Linked DNA regions of Homo sapiens: all the other regions are linked to region 2. The links are contacts of gene promoters, found by promoter capture Hi-C in human tissues and cell types (Jung and others, 2019). All regions are on one chromosome and are shown on one strand. Each heading gives the region's core, a stretch centred on a gene start or on the middle of the fragment in contact. The rest is flanking DNA. Distances are from core to core; before and after follow the strand shown.

Region 1 (2,700 bases), core at 112-2,611, 170 kb before region 2:
TGGCCTGCACTGCTCAGGCCCTATGGCTGGTGGCTGCCTGTGCACCAGTAGTCAATAGGAAGACAAGACCAGAGAGGGTGGGGACCAGTTTTATCCATCCCTCAAAAGCTCCCCGCTGGGCTCAGATGACACCACTTCCTCCCTCCTTCCTTGGGGCCTAGGTGGGGGAGGGCAGTCATCCCCCTGTTGCTGGCGTCTGAGAGCCTCACCATCCCCTGTCAGTTCCTTATCCCCACCCACTGCTTGGAAAACCGCTTTCATCAACATCTCTTCATCTGCACGGTTTAGGATGAACTGCTTCTTGTTTGAATCTTGTGTGATACATTAGCAGCCCTCCTTTTGTGTGTTTATGATTTAGATCTCTTTTCTGTATGTACAAATTTGGTGTGCACTCAATTTTTTCTTTCTTCACTTATTTATTTTAAAAATGTTTTTAAAATCGTGGCTCTTTTTATTTTTACATTTTCCTCAAGTACTGACATAACAATTGAAAGTACCTTACATCTGCATTGTGGGGTGTGTGTGTCTGTGTGTGTGTGTGTGTGTGTGTCTGTGTGTACAGGTGCATGTGACATTAAGGGAAAACTTGTTTTTTTAATTTTACTTTAAGTTCTGGGATACATGTGCAGAACGTGCAGGTTTGTTACACAGGTATACATGTGCCATGGTGGTTTGCTGCACCTATCAACTCATCATCTAGGCTTTAAGCCCCGCATGCAAGGGAAAACTTTTGACTGTATAAAATTTAGAAATGTTTAAACAACAAACAGTATCTTAAACAAAACAATAAAGTCTTTAAAAATTACAAAATAAGAAAAAAAGTGGTTGCAAAATATCGACTCCCCTAAATCAATCTATGAATTTAGGGCTAATCTAATAACAACATTATGATGTTTGAGTGGGGAATTGTTGTTGTTAAGGGGTGTTTCCCCTCAACTTTTTAAAACCAATCAAAATGTATTGTGGTGCCGGGCACGGTGGCTCATGCCTGTAATCCCAGCACTTTGGGAGGCCGAGGAGGGTGGATCACGAGGTCGGGAGATTGAGACCATCCTGGCTAACATGGTGAAACCCCGTCTCTACTAAAAAAATACAAAAAATTAGCCAGGCATGGTGGCGGGCGCCTGTAGTCGCAGCTACTTGGGAGGCTGAGGCAGGAGAATGGCATGAACCCGGGAGGCGGAGCTTGCAGTGAGCAGAGATCGCGCCACTGCACTCCAGCCTGGACAACAGAGCAAGACTCTGCCTCAAAAAAAAAAAGTGTATTGTAGTAAATATGAAATTACTTGAACAAATGTCTAATAGCTGTCCCTAGCGTACAGAAATGGTCTTTGTTGTTCTAAACATTGTTATTCAATGATAGTTTAAGTAACAGCGGACCCTCCATTTAAATTAAAATACAATATTTTGCTGGGCATGATGGCTCATGCCTGTAATCTCAGCACTTTGGGAGGCCAACGTGGGTGGATTGCTTGAGGTCAGGAGTTTGATACCAGCCTGGGAAACATGGCAAATCTCCATCTTTACTAAAAATACAAAAATAAGCTGGGCGCAGTGGTACACACCTGTAGTCCTAGTTACTCAGGAGGCTGAGGCCCGAGAATCTCTGGAACCCAGAAAGTGGAGGTTGCAGTGAGCCGAGATTGTGCCCCTGCCCTCCAGCCTAGGCAACAGAAAGAGACTCTCTCAAAAACAAAACAAAACAAAACAAGATTTCTATGGCCTAACTGTAGAGAGTTCAACAACATGAAAAATAATGTATTCATAAGTGTTATATAAAATAAACCTTTATTTGAAAAATACTATCTTAAAGGCCGGGCACAGTGCTCACGCCTGTAATCCCAGCACTTTGGGAGGCCAAGGCAGGTGGATCACATGAGGTCAGGAGTTCAAGACCAGCCTGACCAACATGGAGAAACCCCATCTCTACTAAAAATACACAAAATCAGCCGGGCATGGTGGTGCATACCTGTAATCCCAGCTACTCAGGATGCTGAGGCAGGAGAATTGCTTGAACCCGGGAGGCGAGGTTGCAGTGAGCCAAGATCGTGCCATTGCACTCCAGCCTGGGCAACAAGAGAGAAACTCCATCTCAAAAAAAAAAAAAAACTGTCTTCAAATTATAATGCTATGTCTACTTGAATAAGAGCAATGGTAGCATCCATTAAATAAGAGCAGCTGAACTAAAAAGAAATACATCAAAATCACTTTAAAGAGACAGCACAGGCGGATGTCCTGCTGTGATTGTGGGTGTTCAGGGCCCCCCTGCTGTGAGAACTGAGTGAAATCTGAAGGTGACCCAGATCCTTGAGCCTCATAGCACCGTCCTCCTCCTTCCTGGAGAACGTGATGATTCAGGGGACCCCCTGGTAGTTCTGGGCCTCTGTGTGTTGTGCTTGGAACAGCAGGAATAAAAAGGCCACTTGGGAAAGGTGAGACTTGAACTTGACGTTAGCCAGGATTTTCCTGCTGCGATCATTTTTTTTTTTCTTAGCACGTTGAGTTTTCTCTCAGTCAACAGAACTGCCATCCAATTTTTCCCGTACTGTTTCCTCATAGAAGAGAATCTCCTTTTGATAGAAGAAAGTGGTTCTTCCTTATTCTTTGTCCATGTCTTGGGTCATCTTCTTGTAGAGGTTGTGAATCTGATGTATGTAATTCACATTTCTACACACGCTGGGAAGTTTCTTCTTAATTTCC
Region 2 (2,700 bases), core at 37-2,536:
CCTGGTTCCCGCCTCGCCACGGATCCGCCGCCCCTGCCGGCCTGAAGGGCAGAGGGGCCCCATCCCGCCCCCCGCGCTAGTGTCGCCAGGCGGCGCCCTTCCACGAGCAGAACGGCCGCGCGGGACGCTTCCCGGGGCAAGGCCGTCCCCTCCCAAGCCCCCAACCCCCGGGCAGCGGACCGCAGGCCGCCTTCGGGAAAGGCTGCGAGATGCTGAGCGCGCGTTTTAACCCAACAGGAAAGCCGGGCGGAGGGGGAAGGCGCTTGGCCCGGGACTGCACACTGGGACTCCCAGTGCAGTGCTCCCCGCGGGGTCCTGGCCGCCGACTCCCGCCCCTGTGCCCCAGCCCCACGGCGCCCGGGAGACTCACCTTCTCCCCGGTCAGCACGTGCAGCCCCTCGCGCACCTTGGCAAAGGAGCCCTCGCCCAGCTTCCTGCTGCCGATGAGGTAGTTGCCCACGCGCTTGTGGTGCTGGAAGTCGCGGAGCCGCTCGCGGGGCACGCCGCTCACCCAGGCAGGCAGGAAACTTCCCTCGCAGGCCGCCGCGGGCCTGGCCGCGTCCTCCGCGCCGCCGCCGCCCCCAGGCGCCGCCGGCTCCCCCAGGAGCCCGTCCCCCGCCGCCGCCGGCATCGCGCTCGCCGCGGCCCGCGCGGCTCCTGCTCGTCTCCCGCGCTCGCAGCTCCTCCTCCCCAGGCTCTTCGGCTTCCCCGGCTTCTCCCGCCGCCGCCCTGGGCCCAGCCCCGCCTGGGTCTCCGCACCCAGAGCCCGGGGCCGCCGCGATCACGCCCCCCGCGCCGCCCAGCGAGGCGCGTAGACAATAGCGGCTGCCCAGGGGACGCGGGACCGGGGACCCCGCCCCCAAAAGTTCTTCCTCTTAGGGTCGCCCGGGCCCCTTTCAGGACACCAGGATCCCGCCCCGGGTCCCGTCCAGGAAGCTAATGACAGTCGCCCTGCTCGGGCGCGCGGGGTGGGGCGCGGTCCGGCGGCGCCTGGGTCCCGGGGTCCGGGTGCCTGGGTCCGGGAGCCCGGGTGCCTCCGCAGCCTCCGCCTCGCCGCCGCCGTCTGGCCCGCACGGGCTTGGGTCGGGCTCCCGCGATCGCTCCTAGCCGTGCGCTGGGCGGCCGCTCCCGCCGGAGAGAAGCGCGCGGCGGGCTGCCGGCGCCCTCTGGAAGGCAGCAGAAGAAAGCCCCATTCAGTTTGAATTTGCAGAAATTTAATCCGCTCGCGGGCGGCGGGAACAGATGCGAGCTCCACTCCGCAGCCCGTGCACTTTCAAATCCCTAGTAGCCCCTCCTTCCCCGCGCGCCACAGTCAAACTCGACCCTCGCTGGAGAGGGGAGGGCCCGGGGAGGGGAGCGGCGGAGTGGACGGAGAAGCCACCTGAGCGCCAGACAGGGAGAACCTGCGCGGCCTCGGAGGCGCGCGCTCCCGGGCCGCCCAGGTCGGGCCGCCTCCGGCTGCGCCTCTTGCCCGGATTCTGGGCTTGGGTTTTCTGGACCTTTCGGCGGTGAAATCCCCCACTGGCCGCACCCACCCGGGGCGGGGGGAAGGGGGAAGGCTCTCGAACTCCGTGGACTGTGAGTCGGGTTGCGTGCCCGGCCCTGAGTCCGCCACACAGTAGGGCCCCCTGGACCGGGGGTGGAAGGATAGATGGATGGCTGGAAGAAAGGGTGGGGAGGCGGCCAGGCGTCTGCCCGGGCTCGCACGCAGCCTGGTTGGCTGTGTTGGAGGAGGCGCAGCCACAGCAGTAATAGTAGCAGCAGCAATGTAGGAACCAGGGCGTTTGCTGCCTCTGCTTGTAGCTTACACCTTCTTTGCCTTCCATTGAAATGATGCCTGTGATTGCAGGAGGTGGACCGGCGCTCGCCTCTCTTCGATGCTTTTGTTCTGCAAGCGCTGTGACTGTGCTCATCGCATAAACAATTGCAACTGCCCTGACGACACTGGACCCTCTCCCAGGATCCCCAACGTCTTCTCAAACCGAAAATGAAGAATCTTGTGAGGGAGAAGGAGGAGGGTAGGTAGGAGGAGGCATTTACAAAATGCTACCTGTTGAGGTGCCCGCATTTGATGGAAACTTCACCCCGATCATGCAACATCAGAGCTGAAAGGAAGGATTTGGTCCTAACAAAGTTCCTTTCATTGTTTATTCCTGAGTAAACAAGTATGACATCGACCCATAGCAATGCTTTGAGATTGGGAGTGGGGGGTGGGGGAACAACAGCTGTCATCAATCCAGTGTCTGGGGGTCTCGCTGACCCATCTGAAGAGGGACGCAGAGAAATGCCTGCTTTCAATACATCTAATTTTAAATACGCTACTATATTCATCCACCTACCTGTTACAAGTCACCAGCCTCAGTTATTATGACGGAACATACTGCGTTTTCTGTTGTTCTGTCTCATTGTTCCCGTTTACCAATATTAAAGATACAGCTTAAAATGTTTTTCTTGCTGTGCTGAAGGGACTTCTTTGCTCCCACCGGCCTTGACTATTTCAGTAACGTTCATTCAATCCTTTTAATGTCTCTAATTCAGTAATCAAATCTTAACAGGACAGTTGCATGGGAGGGGAATGGTAACTAGCGTGGTGCCAGCAGAATAGATGTCCAGCAACTGTCTAAAGAATGAGGAATATGGAGCTCACTTTGGGGTAAAAACCACTCTGAGGCCGGGCGCGGTGGCTCACGCCTGTAATCC
Region 3 (2,785 bases), core at 1-2,500, 250 kb after region 2:
AGAAAAATACTCCTTGGCAGATAAGTAATGGAACATCATTTGTGATCATCTCCAGAAAGAGGCCATCAGAAGGAAACTACCAAAAAGAAAAAGACTTGTATATTCAATATTTTAACCAGGGGTCTGAATCAGATCAGTTGGAATTTGTGGAACATCTTATTTCACGAATGTGTCATTATCACCATGGACGTATCAACTCTTACCTGAAGCCCATGTTGCAGCAGGACTTTATTACTGCTTTACCCGAGCAAGGCTTAGATCACATAGCAGAAAACATTCTTTTGTACCTGGTTACCAGGTCTCTGTGTGCAGCAGAGCTGGTATGTAAAGGATGGCAGGGATTGATCTCAGAATGAATGCTTTGGAAGAAGCTGATTGAACGAATGGTACACACTGATCCCCTATGGAAAGGACTTTCAGAAAGAAGAGGGTGGGATCAGTACCTGTTTCAAAACAGACCCATATCTAGCCCTCCAAATTCATTTTATAGGTCATTATACCCAAACATTATCCAGGATATAGAGACTATAGAATCCACCTAGCGGTGTGGCCGACACAGCTTGCAGAGGATTCAGTACCACTCTGAAAATAGTAAAGGTGTCTATGGTTTACAGTACGATGATGAAAAAATTATCAGTGGCCTACAAGATAATTAAGATTTGGGATAAAACCAGCCTGGAATGTTTGAAAGTGTTAATGGCCACACAGGTTCTGTCCTCTATCTGCAGTAGGATGAGCGTGTCATTGTAACTGGCTCTTCGGATTCTACGGTGAGAGTGTGGGAAGTGAACACGGGTGAAGTTCTTAACACATTAATCCACCACAATGAGGATGTACTGCACTTACGCTTCAGCAGTGGACTGATGGTGACCTGTTCCAAGGACCGCTCCATTGCTGTGTGGGACATGGCTTCTGCGACCGATATCACTTTACGTGGTGTCCTGGTTGTCCACTGAGCTGCTGTCAACGTAGTAGACTTTGACGAGAAATACATCGTGTCTGCCTCTGGTGACAGGACCATCAAAGTCTGGAGCATGAGCACCTGTGAATTTGCTCGTACTCTCAATGGGCACAAGCGAGTCTTGTCTCCAGTACAGGGATGGGCTGGTTGTTAGTGGATCATCAGATCATACCATTAGGCTCTTGGATATTGAATGTGGCTCCTGTTTAAGAGTCCTAGAGGGACATGAAGAATTGGTCCGATGCATCCAGTTTGATAACAAGAGGATGGTCAGCCGGGCCTATGATGGGAAAATTAAAGTTTAGGACTTGCAAGCCGCTCTTGACCCTCGAGCCCCAGCAAGCACATTGTGTTTGCGCACATTGGTGGAACATTCTGGACATGTGTTTTGCCTACAGTTTGATGAGTTTCAAATCGTCAGCAGCTCCCATGATGACACTATTTTGATTTGTGGTTTCTTAAATGTGCCTCCCAGTGCCCAGAATGAGACCCATTCCCCCTCCAGAACATACACTTACATCTCTAGATAACAGTCTGCACTTTCACCCGTTTCCGGGTTTTCTAGTCTTGAACTACTGGCTACGTGGCTACCAATGCCTAAGGGAGTTCGTTCACAGCTGAGTTATGAAGCTGGAATTGGTTCTAGACGCTGGGTAGATGCAAAGCAGCCTAACTCTTCAAGTCCCGACATTTCTCACCTCTGATTCCAGCTCTACTTTGAGAAGGAGACCTTAGCTTCACTGACTTGAAAGTAGCACAGAAGCCCATTTCCTTCCCTCATTAGTGAAAAAATCTAATGTTTCAAATGTAAACTGATCATAGAAAAGGAACATAGAATCTGTTTTACAGAAGTAAATTGACGCCAAGAGAAGTCTTGGCCTCTAATTTATATTGCTTTGCACTTTGGTTTGATACTAAGAAACAGCATTCTTCTTCAGTGAAATTTTGGGTGCCAAACACCTACTCAGAATGTCCACGGCTTTCATTTTCAAAAGTTAACATTCTCCTTTTGACCGTCCAAGTCATTATGAATTTTGACTTGCTGTATTAGGAACATGTTGGACAATGGAAAAATCTCTCTGGGTCGTTTTAGTAATATGTTTTGGATTATACTTCCTTTCTATACCAATTTCTTTTAATTTAAAGAACTGTAAGTCAGTTGGCCGAGCGCAGTGGCTCACCCCTGTAATCCCAGCACTTTGGAAAGCCAAGGCGGGCGGATCACGAGGTCAGGAGATTGAGACCATCCTGGCTAACACGGTGAAACCCCGTCTCTACTAAAAATACAAAAAATTAGCCGGGTGTGGTGGTGGGCGCCTCTAGTCCCAGCTACTTGGGAGGCTGAGGCAGGAGAATGGCCAGAACCCTGGAGGCGGAGGTTGCAGTGAGTCAAGATTGCACCACTGCACTCCAGCCTGGGCGACAGAGCGAGACTCCGTCTCAAAAAAAAAAAAAAAAAAAAAAGAACTATAAGTCAGTTATTATCTCCCAACATAGCTCTTTTATTTTATTTTTAATTTTTTTAAATTATATTTTAAGTTCTGGAATACATGTGCAGAACGTGCACTTTTGTTACATAGGTATACACGTGCCATGGGGGTTAGCCCTTTTATTAACTGTTCTCTGAACCGCAACCATCTCCTGATATTTGGTAGAGTAACACCTTTATATGTGTGCTTGCCTCCTAATTTAAAATACTGTATTCACATGTAGATATAATGTACATAACAGTTTAACTTCAAAGTTGCTGGGGTCAGGGCCCCCTGCACTTGAGACACTAATACAGAGTGTGTTCGCGCTTAGCCATGGACTGGACTCAAGAAC
Region 4 (2,700 bases), core at 201-2,700, 130 kb after region 2:
ACCAACCAAACAAAGAAAAAAATACACAAAGCTATTGAAAGGAGAAATAAATACATGCACAATCACATCAGGAGACATCAAATCTCCTCTCTAATTGACATAATAAGCAGGTAGAAAAAGAATAGAAATCTAGAAGACTTAAATAATACCATCAACCAACTTGATCCAAGAGACGTTAACAGAACCTAACAAGAGCGGAATATATATTATTATCCTACCTAACAAGAGCGGAATATATATTATTATCCTACCTAACAAGAGCGGAATATATATTATTATCCTACCTAACAAGAGCGGAATATATATTATTTTAAAGTGCACATGGAGCAATCATCTAGGTAGACCATGAATTGAGCCACAAAACAAGTCACAATAATTAAAAAAAAACTGAAATCATATGAAGTATGATATGTGACTATAATGGAATTCGATTAGTATAATCAATCACAGAAAGATAACAGAAATTCCCAACTATTTGGAATTTAAACAATACTTTCATAAATAAGAACTTAGGGAAAAGAAAAACTCCCAAGGGAAATTACAAAATATTTTGAACTAAATATTTAAGAAATACAACACTCCAAAATTTGAGAAGTAAATTTAAAGTTTTAAATGCTTACAATACAAAAAAAAAAAAAAAAAAAAAGGCTCGGCTGGGCGTGTTGGCTCACGCCTGAGGTCAAGAGTTCGAGACCAGTCTGGCCAACATGATGAAACCCCATCTCTACTAAACATAAAAAAAAATTAGCCGGGCATGGTGGTATGTGCCTGTAATCCCAGCTACTCAGGAAGCTGCAACAGGAGAATTGCTTGAACTAGGGAGGTGGAGGTTGCAGTGAGCCGAGATGGTGCCACTGCACTCCAGCCTGGGTGGCAGAGCGAGACTCCATCTCAAAAAAAAAAAAAAAGGCTAAAATCAATGATCTAGGCCTCCACTTTAAGAAACCGGAAAAGAGGCCGGACACAGTGGCTCACCCCTGTAATCCAAGCACTTAGGGAGGCCGAGGTGGGCAGATCACAAGGTCAGGAGTTCAAGACTAGCCTGGCCAAAATGGTGAAACCCCGTCTCTACTAAAAATACAAAAATTAGCCAGGCATGGTGGCGCACACCTGTAGTCCCAGCTACTCAGGAGGTTGAGGCAGGAAAATTGCTTGAACCCGGGAGGCAGAGGTTGTGGTGAGCCAAGATCACCCCACTGCACTCCAGCCTGGGCGACAGAGTGAGACATTGTCTCAAAAAAAAAAAAAAAAAAAAAACTTGAAAAGAGCAAATTAAATATAAAGGAAGCAGAAGAAAGGAAATAAGAGTGAAAATCAATGAACTAGAAAGTCCACAAACAATAGAGCTAATCAATGAAACCAAAAACTGTTTCTTTGGTTTTTGGAACAACAAAATAGATGAATCTCTAACCTCACTCAACAAGAAAAGAAAAAAAAGAAGATAGAAATTATCAATATCAGAAATGAAAGAGGAAATATCACTACAGACATTAAAAGGGTAATAACAGAATATCATGGAAAAACTTTATGCAATAAATTGACAACCTTTAAATGGACAATTTTCTGAAAAAAATACAAATGATCAAAACTCCCTCGAGAAACAGAAGACCTGAAGAACACTATATCAATTTTAAAAATTGATTAATATAAAACCCTCTCATAAGCAAAACTTTAGGCCCAAGTGGCTTCATTGGTGAATTCTAACAAATCTTAAGAAAGAAATAATATCAATTCCACACAGGCTATTTTAGAAAATAGAGAAGGAGGTCGGGTGTGGTGGTTCACACCTGTAATCCCAGCACTTTGGGAGGCCGAGGCAGGTGGATCACCTGAGGTCAGGAGTTCGAGACCAGCCTGGCCAACATGGTGAAACCCCATCTCTAGTAAAAATACAAAAATTAGCTGGGCATGGTGGCAGCTGCCTGTAATCCCAGCTACTTGAGAGGCTGAGGCAGGAGAATCGCTTGAACCCAGGAGGTTGCAGTGAGCCAAGATCGCACCACTGCCCTCCAGCCGGGTGACAAGAGCAAAACGCTATCTAAAAAAAAAAAAAAAAAAAATAGATAACAGGGAAGGAGAGAAGCACTTATCAAATAATTTGATGAGAGCAAGCTACCCCGACACCAAAACCATTACAAGAAAAGGAAAACAGAGACCACCAATACCACTCATGAATATAGAAGGAAATATTTTGACAGACAGAATCTTTGCAAATTGAACCCGGCAACATATAAAAAAAGTAATATCCCATAACCAAGTGGATTTTATTATAGGAATGCCAGGTTGGTTTCACATTCAAAAACCAATCACAGTAATTCATTAATATAATAGAATAGACAAAATCACATAATCATCCCAATGAATATAGCCATGGTATCTGACAACATTAACACCCATTTGTGATTTTTGTTGTTGTTGTTGTTGTTTTGTTTTTTGAGACGGAGTCTCACCCTGTTGCCCAGGCTGGAGTGCAATGGCGTGATCTCGGCTCCCTGCAACCTCTGCCTCCCAGGTTCAAGCAATTCTCCTGCCCCAGCCTCCCAAGTAGCTGGGATTACAGGTGCACAGGCGAGCGCCACCATGACCAGCTAATTTTTTGTATCTTTAATAGAGACGGGGGTTCACCACGTTGGCCAGGCTGGTCTCAAACTCCTGACCTCGTGATCCGCCCACCTCGGCCTCCCAGAGTGCTGGGATTAC
Region 5 (2,728 bases), core at 92-2,591, 220 kb after region 2:
TTGTTTTTTAAAAATGTAATTATCTATTCCCTTTAAGGCACATAATTTTCTTAATGAACCTCTACCCTACTAGGTGGGTAGGAGTTGGGTGAGACTTAAACTTGAAATGATAATGCCTAAAGTTTGTGCGGTTTAAACCCCAGGGGTCCCCATCACCTGGGCCATATTGGCTTCAAATTGGCTATATTTGAAGAATTGTCTTGGGCCACACATAAAATACGTTAACACTAATGATAGCTGGTGAGCTAAAAAAAAAAAAAAAAAAAAAAAAATCGCAAAGGCAATCTCACATTTTAAGAAAGTTTATGAATTTGCATTGGGCTGCACCCAAAGCCTTCCTGGGCCACAGGCACCATAGGCTGCGGGTTGGACAAGCTTGGTTTATAGGCCTCATATGTGGTGGGGCTGCTGTTTTAAAAGTCTCATCAGTGCAGATTTTACTTATTGCATGAAGATTGGTATTTAAGTTGAGATGAAGGGTAGTATATTTTGTTTGAGATCATTACACTTGTGAAGAGTTAATTGAGTTGCATGTTTTTCACGTATTATTTAGTCATACCTTTATCATGACAGGATGATTCTGCTTCACAACTTCTTTCTGTTTTTAAGGAAAGGGGCTGGGCATGGTGGTTCAACCCTATAATCCCAGCACTTTTGGAGGCGGAGACGGGCAGATCACTTCAGCCCAGGAGTTTGAGACCAGCCTGGGCAACATGGTGAAACCCCGACTCTACAAAAAATACAAAAACTAGCTGGGCATGGTGGCACACACCTATAGTCTCAGCTACCCAGGAGACTGAGGTGGCAGAATTGCTTGAACTCAGGTGGCAGAGGTTGCAGTGAGCAGAGATCGCACCTCTGCACTCCAGCCTGGGCAACAGAGTGAGACCCTGCCTAAAAAAAAAAAAAAAAAAAAAGAGGCATTGGTTTATTGTTATTGTTCTTTTAAAAAAAATTGCTGCTCCACAACCTGGGAGGTTTGGTTTGTTTTTTTTTTTTAACAGTTTTATTAAGATACAATTTACATACCATACAATTCACCCTTTGTAAGCATGCACTTTAATGATTTTTAAAGTAAATTTATGTAGTTGACAGCTACCAGCACAATGCAGTTTTAAAACATTTCCATCAGCCCAATTTACCTCATGGTAGTTTTTGCTTAATCCCTTCTCCCACCCCAAGCTGCAGGCAACCACTGACCTGCTTTCTGTCAATAAATTTGCCCTTTCTGGACATTTCATGTAAATAGTATCATACAATACACTGTCTTTTGCATCTGGCCTATTGTACTTAGCATGATGTTTTAGAGCTCAGTTCACGTTATAGCACTTATCTGTAATTTGTGCCTTTCTATATGTGAATACTATTCTGTTACATGGATAGACTGTATCTGAGATCGTTTTTCCGCTCATAAGCTGAGGGACATTTGGATGTATTATGGGTTGAATTGTGCCCCATCCCCAAATACATATGTTAAAGTTTTATTTTTTTGGACGGAGTCTCGCTCTGTCACCCAGGCTGGAGTGCAGTGGCGCGATCTCGGCTCACTGCAAGCTCTGCCTCCCAGGTTCATGCCATTCTCCTGCCTCAGCCTCCCAAGTAGCTGGGATGCCCGCCACCACGCCCGGCTAATTTTTTGTATTTTTAATAGAGACTGGGTTTCACCATGTTAGCCAGGATGGTCTCGATCTCCTGACCTTGTGATCCGCCTGCCTCGGCCTTCCAAACTGCTGGGATTACAGGCATGAGCCACCACGCCCAGCCCTGAAGTTTTAACCCCCAATAACTTGGAAGGTGACCATGTTTGGAAATGGGGTTTTGCAGATGTAATTAGTTAAGATAAGGTCATACTGGAGTAGGATGAACCCCTAAGTCCAGCATGACTGGTGTCCTTACAAAAGAGGAAATTTGGACATAAGCACACAGGGAGAACACCCCCATGTGAATATAAAGGCAGAGATAGGTGTGGTGCTTCTACAAGCCAAAGAACACCAGATATTGTCAGCAAACCCCAAAAAGCTAGGGGAGAGGCATGGAGCAGATTCTTCACAGCCTCAGAAGGAACCAGCCTTGCTGATACCTTCATCTCTCCTAGCCTCTGGAACTATGAGACAATGTCTGTTATATAAGCCACTCAGTTTGTGGTAGTTGTTTTTCTGGTTTGTTTGTTTTTCTGAGACAGAGTCTCTCTCTGTCAGCCAGGCTGGAGTGCAATGGCACGATCTCGGCTCACTGCAACCTCCACCTCCCGAGTTCAAGCAATTCTCCTGCCTTAGCCTCCCAAGTAGCTGGGATTACAGGTACCTGCCACTACACCCGGCTCATTTTTTGTGTTTTCAGTAGAGACAGGGTTTTGCCATCATGGCCAGGCTGGTCTCAATCTCCTGACCTCAGGTGATCCACCTCCTCGGCTTCCCAAAGTGCTGAGATTACAGGTATGAGCCACCGCATCCAGCCGTGTGCATGGTAGTTTGTTACAACAGCCTTAGACAGGCATACAGGAGTATTTCCAGTTCTTGAATATTATGAATAATGCTGCTGTAAACACTGGCATTCATGCCTCTGAACACATATGGTTTTATTTCTCTTTGGTTTTTTAACTTTTGTTTAACTTTTTTAAAAAACTGCCAATTAGCTTTTCCAAGTGTCTACATCACTTTACATTTCCATCAGCAACGTATGATGGTTCCATTTTCTCCCCATCCTCACCAACACTTGGTATTGTTTT
Region 6 (2,700 bases), core at 151-2,650, 210 kb before region 2:
TTAGGCCTTCCTCCCATCCCACCTCCTCCCTCAAATTTGCCTTCATGAGAGATGAGAATTACTATTTATACAAATTTACTAAACACAATCTCAGATGCCTTGGAAGGAAAATATTTGATCTGATTAAGAATGGAAACTATTTTTCACATTATTAAAGCACTTGAGTAGCACTGATTGGATTAAAATAATGTGAACTGGCACATGAAAATTGTCTACTTACTATAATCGACCCATAAGACTTCTACTTGGTTGCTTGTTTTTTAAAAATCTATGTAAATATTTGGAAGTAATTTTATTGTGTTTCTTCCACTATATTCTGCAATTCTAACTTTCATTAACTCATATTGAGCTCTTTACCAATTGATCCAAATTACTGTGTTTTTATTGCCCCAGTCACCAGCACTTCCAGAGGTCAGGTTGATACTGTGTGGTTCAAAGTCCCCACCATAAATCACATTGATAACATAGACCCTTTGGGCTATCCCAAGCCCCCCATGTAAACAAAGGCATTCTTTTTTTTTTTTTTTTTTGAGACGGAGTCTCGCTCTACTGTATAGGCTGAAGTGCAGTGGCGTGATCTCAGCTCACTGCAAGCTCCGCCTCCTGGGTTCACACCATTCTCCTGCCTCAGAAACATTTCAAGGGCTTAGAAGTATTCAAGTATTCAAGTATTAATTGGATCACTATTGAAAAAGCAGAATAGGAAATCTAATTTTCTCTCTTGTGTTTGATGGATTTGTCTTATGAAAGCTTCAGAACTGTCCTTCCCAGTTCTCATGTTATTTCTTTCTGTGAGATTCCGGGGCCTCCTGCTTTTCTGCGTTTACGTCAAGACCTCTACTTGTCATTCTGTAATAAATAGAGAATTTCCTGGGCTCTTTTAACTGGATCTCCTTGTGTCTGTATATTGGAATTTATTTTCAGCAGACTGATATCATATGGAAATGCCAGCTCAGAAGATGTGGTGAGCTTTGATAATTCAGGAATTGACTGACAGAAGGAGGACCTCATTTGGGCAGGTATGAACCTGGGGTATGTGCCTGATAAGAGAAGGTAATGATGCAGAAAAGGGAGATATCTCTAGAAGAGGATAAACAGCAGGTGGGAGGGTTTAACCTGGTTTGGGGATGAGGTAGGAAAGGCTCCAAAGGGAAACTAGGAGGTCAGACTGTTCTAAGAGTGCAGTGGCTGAGAAGAGACCGATTGACCAGAAAAGAAGGAAAAACAGAATGTCCCCAGGTTCTAGGATGAAGATTGCTAATCGCTTTTCATGGGAGTTCTGGCCAGGTGAGTTGATGCTGGGATTCTACTTTGAAGGTTGCAAAGTTCGGGTGTCTACAAGATCCTCCTCACTTCTGACACCAACAACAAATTGAAGATCCCCAGGACCATCTCAGATTCAATAATTTGCTAGCAAGATGCACAGAACTCAGAAAAGTTATTATATTCATGGTTATGCTTTATTACCATGAAAGGATACAGATTAAAATCCTCCAAGGGAAGAGGCATATAGGTCAGATTTTAGAAGTCATTAAACATGAGTCGTGCAGAGAGCACCTCTCAGACACAACATTTGACATCATGCACAGAGTATTATTAACCAGGAAAAACTCACCAGAGTCTTGGTGTGCACAGTTTTTATTGGGACTTGTTCACGTAGACATGATTGACCATCTGCTGGGCTGACCTTGGTCACCAGCACTTCCAGAGGTCAGGTTGATACTGTGTGGTTCAAAGTCCCCACCATAAATCACATTGATAACATAGACCCTTTGGGCTATCCCAAGCCCCCCATATAAACAAAGGCATTCTCTTTTTTTTTTTTTTTTTTTGAGACGGAGTCTCACTCTACCGTATAGGCTGAAGTGCAGTGGCGTGATCTCAGCTCACTGCAAGCTCCGTCTCCTGGGTTCACAACATTCTCCTGCCTCAGAAACATTTCAAGGGCTTAGAAGTTACCTCTCATGTGCTGAGGGCAAAAGTCAAACCTCTTTTGGACAAGGTGAATTATTTACTGCACAGGAGTCCTTCTTGATCAGGGAGATCTATTCCCAGGGCAGATCAGAGGATCAAATCTGTGGCAGAATATCAGACCAAAATGAAACTGTCCTTGTATCCAAGGGGCAATCTCAGGATCATTACAGGGGATAAAGGCTCAGTCTGGTCAGGGAAGATGGGCAGTAATGAGAAAGGAGCTTCTCATTACTGAGATACCAGGAGCTTGTTCTGATTTGGGTGCTTATCCTATGATGCTTGGATGGGTCCTTCTGCTTAAAATATCCAGGACTGGGAAGACTGAAAACACTTTTTTAAAAAATCCAAGCAGATAGATGCTTGAATCACATTGGTTGTGATTACTAATCGAGCACCTGAAAATTTCTAAGCTATATATAGCTTGACCTGGTCATACAGAAGATAGTTATACCTAGAATGACTGAACCCATAATATGCCGACGTCCTCCCCAAGTGAGGATGGTCTTGGGGACACGTGGACTTTGGACAGCCACAGAGGCCTGGGTGTGGGAGTAGGCTGTAGGCTCCCAACTGCATCCAAGAAGACAAGCTTCTCTTCTCCTTGGGGTGGGAAGAAGGAGTGACCACAGGTGAGCTCAAGGTTCCTCAAGATTATTCGTAAACTCGTGAATAGCAAGGTCTGCTGTCATGCCTGCCTTGCCAGAAGAGTCCAATCCAGAACCAAGC
Region 7 (2,854 bases), core at 213-2,712, 190 kb before region 2:
TTTAGGGAAGATTCATGTATTCATGTAGGTTGGGGTTCACAACATAGCATCCACAGATTTCCTGGGCATTCTTGCTATTACATATTAAATGTGAATAGGTGTCTTTTGTTATGTGGGCAAGATCCACACTTTCATTGGATTGTCAAGGAGGTCACTGACTCCCAAATAGGTTGAAAACCTTATTGAGTTTGGGAAGATAATACCCTATCATTTACAGGGCAGCAAGGTGGCTGACCCATGGTCATAGGAATTTTATAGATTAACAATATTTGGTTTAAGCTGATGACTTCCAAGTGAGCACTAATTAGCCCAGTAGGTTGAAAAGCCATTGCTGATGTCCATTTTTCAAGTGGACAGGCTTTTCTGTCTGAGACAGGAGGCTCCCAGGCTGGCCTGGCAGAGGGCTCTGCAGCCACTCAGCCTGAGTTCAGATCCCAATTCTTATTAGCTGTGTGACCAGGGTGCCTTCCCAGCCCTCTCTGCACCAGTTTCTTCATCTGTAAAATGGGAACAATGATAGTAGCACCTACCTTGCAGGTATTAACTCTAAGTGAGTTAACACATATAAAGTGAGTTGAGCAGTACTTGGCACAGAGTGGGAGTTTTGACTAAGTTTGGGGGTACATAGGGGTAGTCCCAGGAATTTGTATTTTAACAGGCTCTCCTGGTGATTCCATCTGCAGGTGTTATTTAACCACACTGTGTCAAGACCCAGCGAAACTGAACTTGCCTATTCACAGTGCAGGGCCCTGCTTTGTAAGTTACCACTCACCATGCAAAGAAATACCTGGTGAGCTCCTGATCCCTGATGCTGGTGCCCTCTGGATAGCCAGCTGGGCACGGCCAGCCGTGAGCAGGAGGGAATGATGTCCTGGCCCTGACTGGCCCTCTTGGCAGGGCTTCTTCAATGGTAGAATGCAATCCAAATGTTTCCTGGCAACATGGTGGCAACAGAGGTGATGGGCGGAGCATCTTGGCCAGGATACAGAGCCGCCTGCAGGTACAGCTCCCACCCGCCGTCCTGCCGCAGGAACAGGTGTCTCCAGGTGCCTCCTCTCTCCCTCTGCCCCCCAGCTCTCCTCCCTGATCCTGATTTCTCTCCCTTCAACTTTTTACTGAGGTTTTCCCCTCTCTGCCCAAATTACAGTGGCTCCAGGGAACATTTAGATTCCAAATTGTTCCCAGAAGCTTGATGGTCTCTCCGTTCTGGTTTATGGCAGCCTGTAGGTAGGTGATGCTTCCCAACACCACAAGTTGGCCAGAGCCGGGCCCTGACAAAAAGATAATCTGCAGAAGAGCCCACAGCAAACAGCCAGGTCCACAGGGAGCAGCATCTGTTCACGGCGGGCAAGAGTGTGGCCTCACGTCTGGGAAAGGTGGAAGGTTGAGAACTAAGACCAAGACAGGCCCCGACTGGAAGAACAGAGGCAAGTAGGCAGGAAGAAGGAGGAGAGAATCCTTGTCAGAGGAATCAGGGTCAACAATCCATCTGGAGGGACTTAATTGTCCCCAGCCCTCAGCTCAGCATTGCTCGTGAAAATGGAGGCTGCCCCTCAAGTGGACATTGAGTGGCTGCAACTGCTAGAAGGAGGTAGCATACAGGAGTCAGGACCCCATTAGGACATAGCCCACGGACAGCTGGGGTTGTTTTGTGTTTTTCCGGTTTGTCTGGATTTTTTTTTTTTTTGAGACAGTCTTGCTTCATCACCCAGGCTGGAGTGCAGTGGCACGATCTCAGCTGACTGCAACCTCTGCCTCCTGAGTTCAAGCAATTCTCACGCCTCAGCCTCCCAAGTAGCTGGAATTACAGGCACCCACCACCATGCCCAGCTAATTTCTGTATTTTTAGTAGAGACAGGATTTTGACTTGTTGGTCAGGCTGGTCTCAAACTCCTGGCCTCACGTGATCCGCCTGCCTCAGCCTCCCAAAGTGCTGGGATTACAGGTGTGAGCCACCACTCCTGGCCAAGGGGAGCTGTTTCACAAGCAAGTCACAAATTCCAGGAATGGCAACTACCACCATTAAATTTGGAGGCACTTAGTAGGTGTCAGACATACTGTTAGACCCTCTATACCAACCCCATAAACTAAGCTTCAATGTCAGAAGCAGAAGAGCTCTAATAGTTAGGAGTGAGGACTCTGGAGCCAAAAAGTCTGGTTCAAAACCCAGCTCTGCCACTTGCTAGCTATGTGACTTTGGGCTCATTTCTTAATTTCTCTGATCCTCAATTGCCCATCTGTAAAATGGGTATGACAAAAGGAGCTCCTGCCTCAGCTGTTGTGAAAGTAAATGAGATGATTCATATAAAGCGCCAAGCATAGTACCCAGCACCTAGGAAGGAAACAGAACAATGCTGCTGTCACAGGGTCATTGTTGCTATTATTATTCCTTTTGCTTGGGTTCTCAAGGCTGAGCTCACATGGCCCTGTCAGGGGAGGAAGAGGAGCAGAGAGGTAGGCAAATTGGTGCTCCTTGAACCCATGGGATCTGAGCCCCCAGAAAAGAAACTGCTTTAAACAATATCTTATGTCTGTTTCCCTCTGCCCATACTTTAGAGACGTCAGGAACACACTGCAAACTGCCTTTCACATTTCACACCTCCAGGCAATAGTAACAGCCAGACTTTCCTTGAATATTCTTCCATGAAGACTGCAGAAGACAAGGGTCTTTCTTTGGAAAATAACAATAATACTTCACTAGAATGTCAATAATAATTAAGCTGGGGGTGTATAGGGAAGAAATAAAAGCAACATCCCTCAAGGGTTATATTATTTCTAATGTGCAAATCTTTGCACACGTGACCTCTCTGCCCCGGTGTGCTATCGATGTACACCCATCAAGGCTTAAGGTAAA

What was found. The method cuts DNA at HindIII sites, captures the fragments that hold promoters and counts their contacts. A contact is called where the count stands out against the background at its distance.
Region 1: a fragment that was not itself captured here is called in contact with the fragment with the promoter of HUNK in region 2 in 2 of the 25 tissues and cell types used here (dorsolateral prefrontal cortex and thymus).
Region 3: a contact is called between a fragment that was not itself captured here and the fragment with the promoter of HUNK in region 2, in 1 of the 25 tissues and cell types used here (lymphoblastoid cells).
Region 4: a fragment that was not itself captured here is called in contact with the fragment with the promoter of HUNK in region 2 in 6 of the 25 tissues and cell types used here (H1 embryonic stem cells, heart right ventricle, liver and 3 more).
Region 5: a fragment that was not itself captured here is called in contact with the fragment with the promoter of HUNK in region 2 in 1 of the 25 tissues and cell types used here (lymphoblastoid cells).
Region 6: a fragment that was not itself captured here is called in contact with the fragment with the promoter of HUNK in region 2 in 4 of the 25 tissues and cell types used here (aorta, dorsolateral prefrontal cortex, lymphoblastoid cells and 1 more).
Region 7: a fragment that was not itself captured here is called in contact with the fragment with the promoter of HUNK in region 2 in 4 of the 25 tissues and cell types used here (IMR-90 fibroblasts, dorsolateral prefrontal cortex, lymphoblastoid cells and 1 more).

The regions. Positions count from the first base shown.
Region 1 is chr21:32,045,974-32,048,673 of GRCh38, reverse strand. No RefSeq gene overlaps it. Among named protein-coding and RNA genes, the nearest start is that of LINC00159, 39 kb to the left of the region's middle. The HindIII fragment of the contact is 6,648 bases long and covers 1-2,700 here.
Region 2 is chr21:31,871,606-31,874,305 of GRCh38, reverse strand. It overlaps HUNK (hormonally up-regulated Neu-associated kinase), which reads right to left and starts at 1,286. Exons shown (of 11, transcript NM_014586.2): 1 at 371-1,286. The coding sequence starts at 631. RefSeq lists silencers at 13-192, 1,119-1,168. The HindIII fragment of the contact is 17,092 bases long and covers 1-2,700 here.
Region 3 is chr21:31,625,833-31,628,617 of GRCh38, reverse strand. It overlaps the pseudogene FBXW11P1. Among named protein-coding and RNA genes, the nearest start is that of SOD1, 32 kb to the left of the region's middle. The HindIII fragment of the contact is 6,770 bases long and covers 1-2,785 here.
Region 4 is chr21:31,739,249-31,741,948 of GRCh38, reverse strand. The region is part of intron 1 of LOC124905008 (a long non-coding RNA gene); the gene reads right to left. Among named protein-coding and RNA genes, the nearest start is that of SCAF4, 8.5 kb to the right of the region's middle. The HindIII fragment of the contact is 5,403 bases long and covers 1-2,700 here.
Region 5 is chr21:31,651,106-31,653,833 of GRCh38, reverse strand. SOD1-DT (SOD1 divergent transcript) reads left to right here. Exons shown (of 3, transcript NR_187558.1): 3 at 1-247. Among named protein-coding and RNA genes, the nearest start is that of SOD1, 7.2 kb to the left of the region's middle. The HindIII fragment of the contact is 3,434 bases long and covers 1-2,728 here.
Region 6 is chr21:32,084,523-32,087,222 of GRCh38, reverse strand. LINC00159 (long intergenic non-protein coding RNA 159) reads left to right here and starts at 928. Exons shown (of 2, transcript NR_038033.1): 1 at 928-1,019. The HindIII fragment of the contact is 3,140 bases long and covers 1-2,700 here.
Region 7 is chr21:32,065,905-32,068,758 of GRCh38, reverse strand. No RefSeq gene overlaps it. Among named protein-coding and RNA genes, the nearest start is that of LINC00159, 19 kb to the left of the region's middle. The HindIII fragment of the contact is 3,631 bases long and covers 1-2,854 here.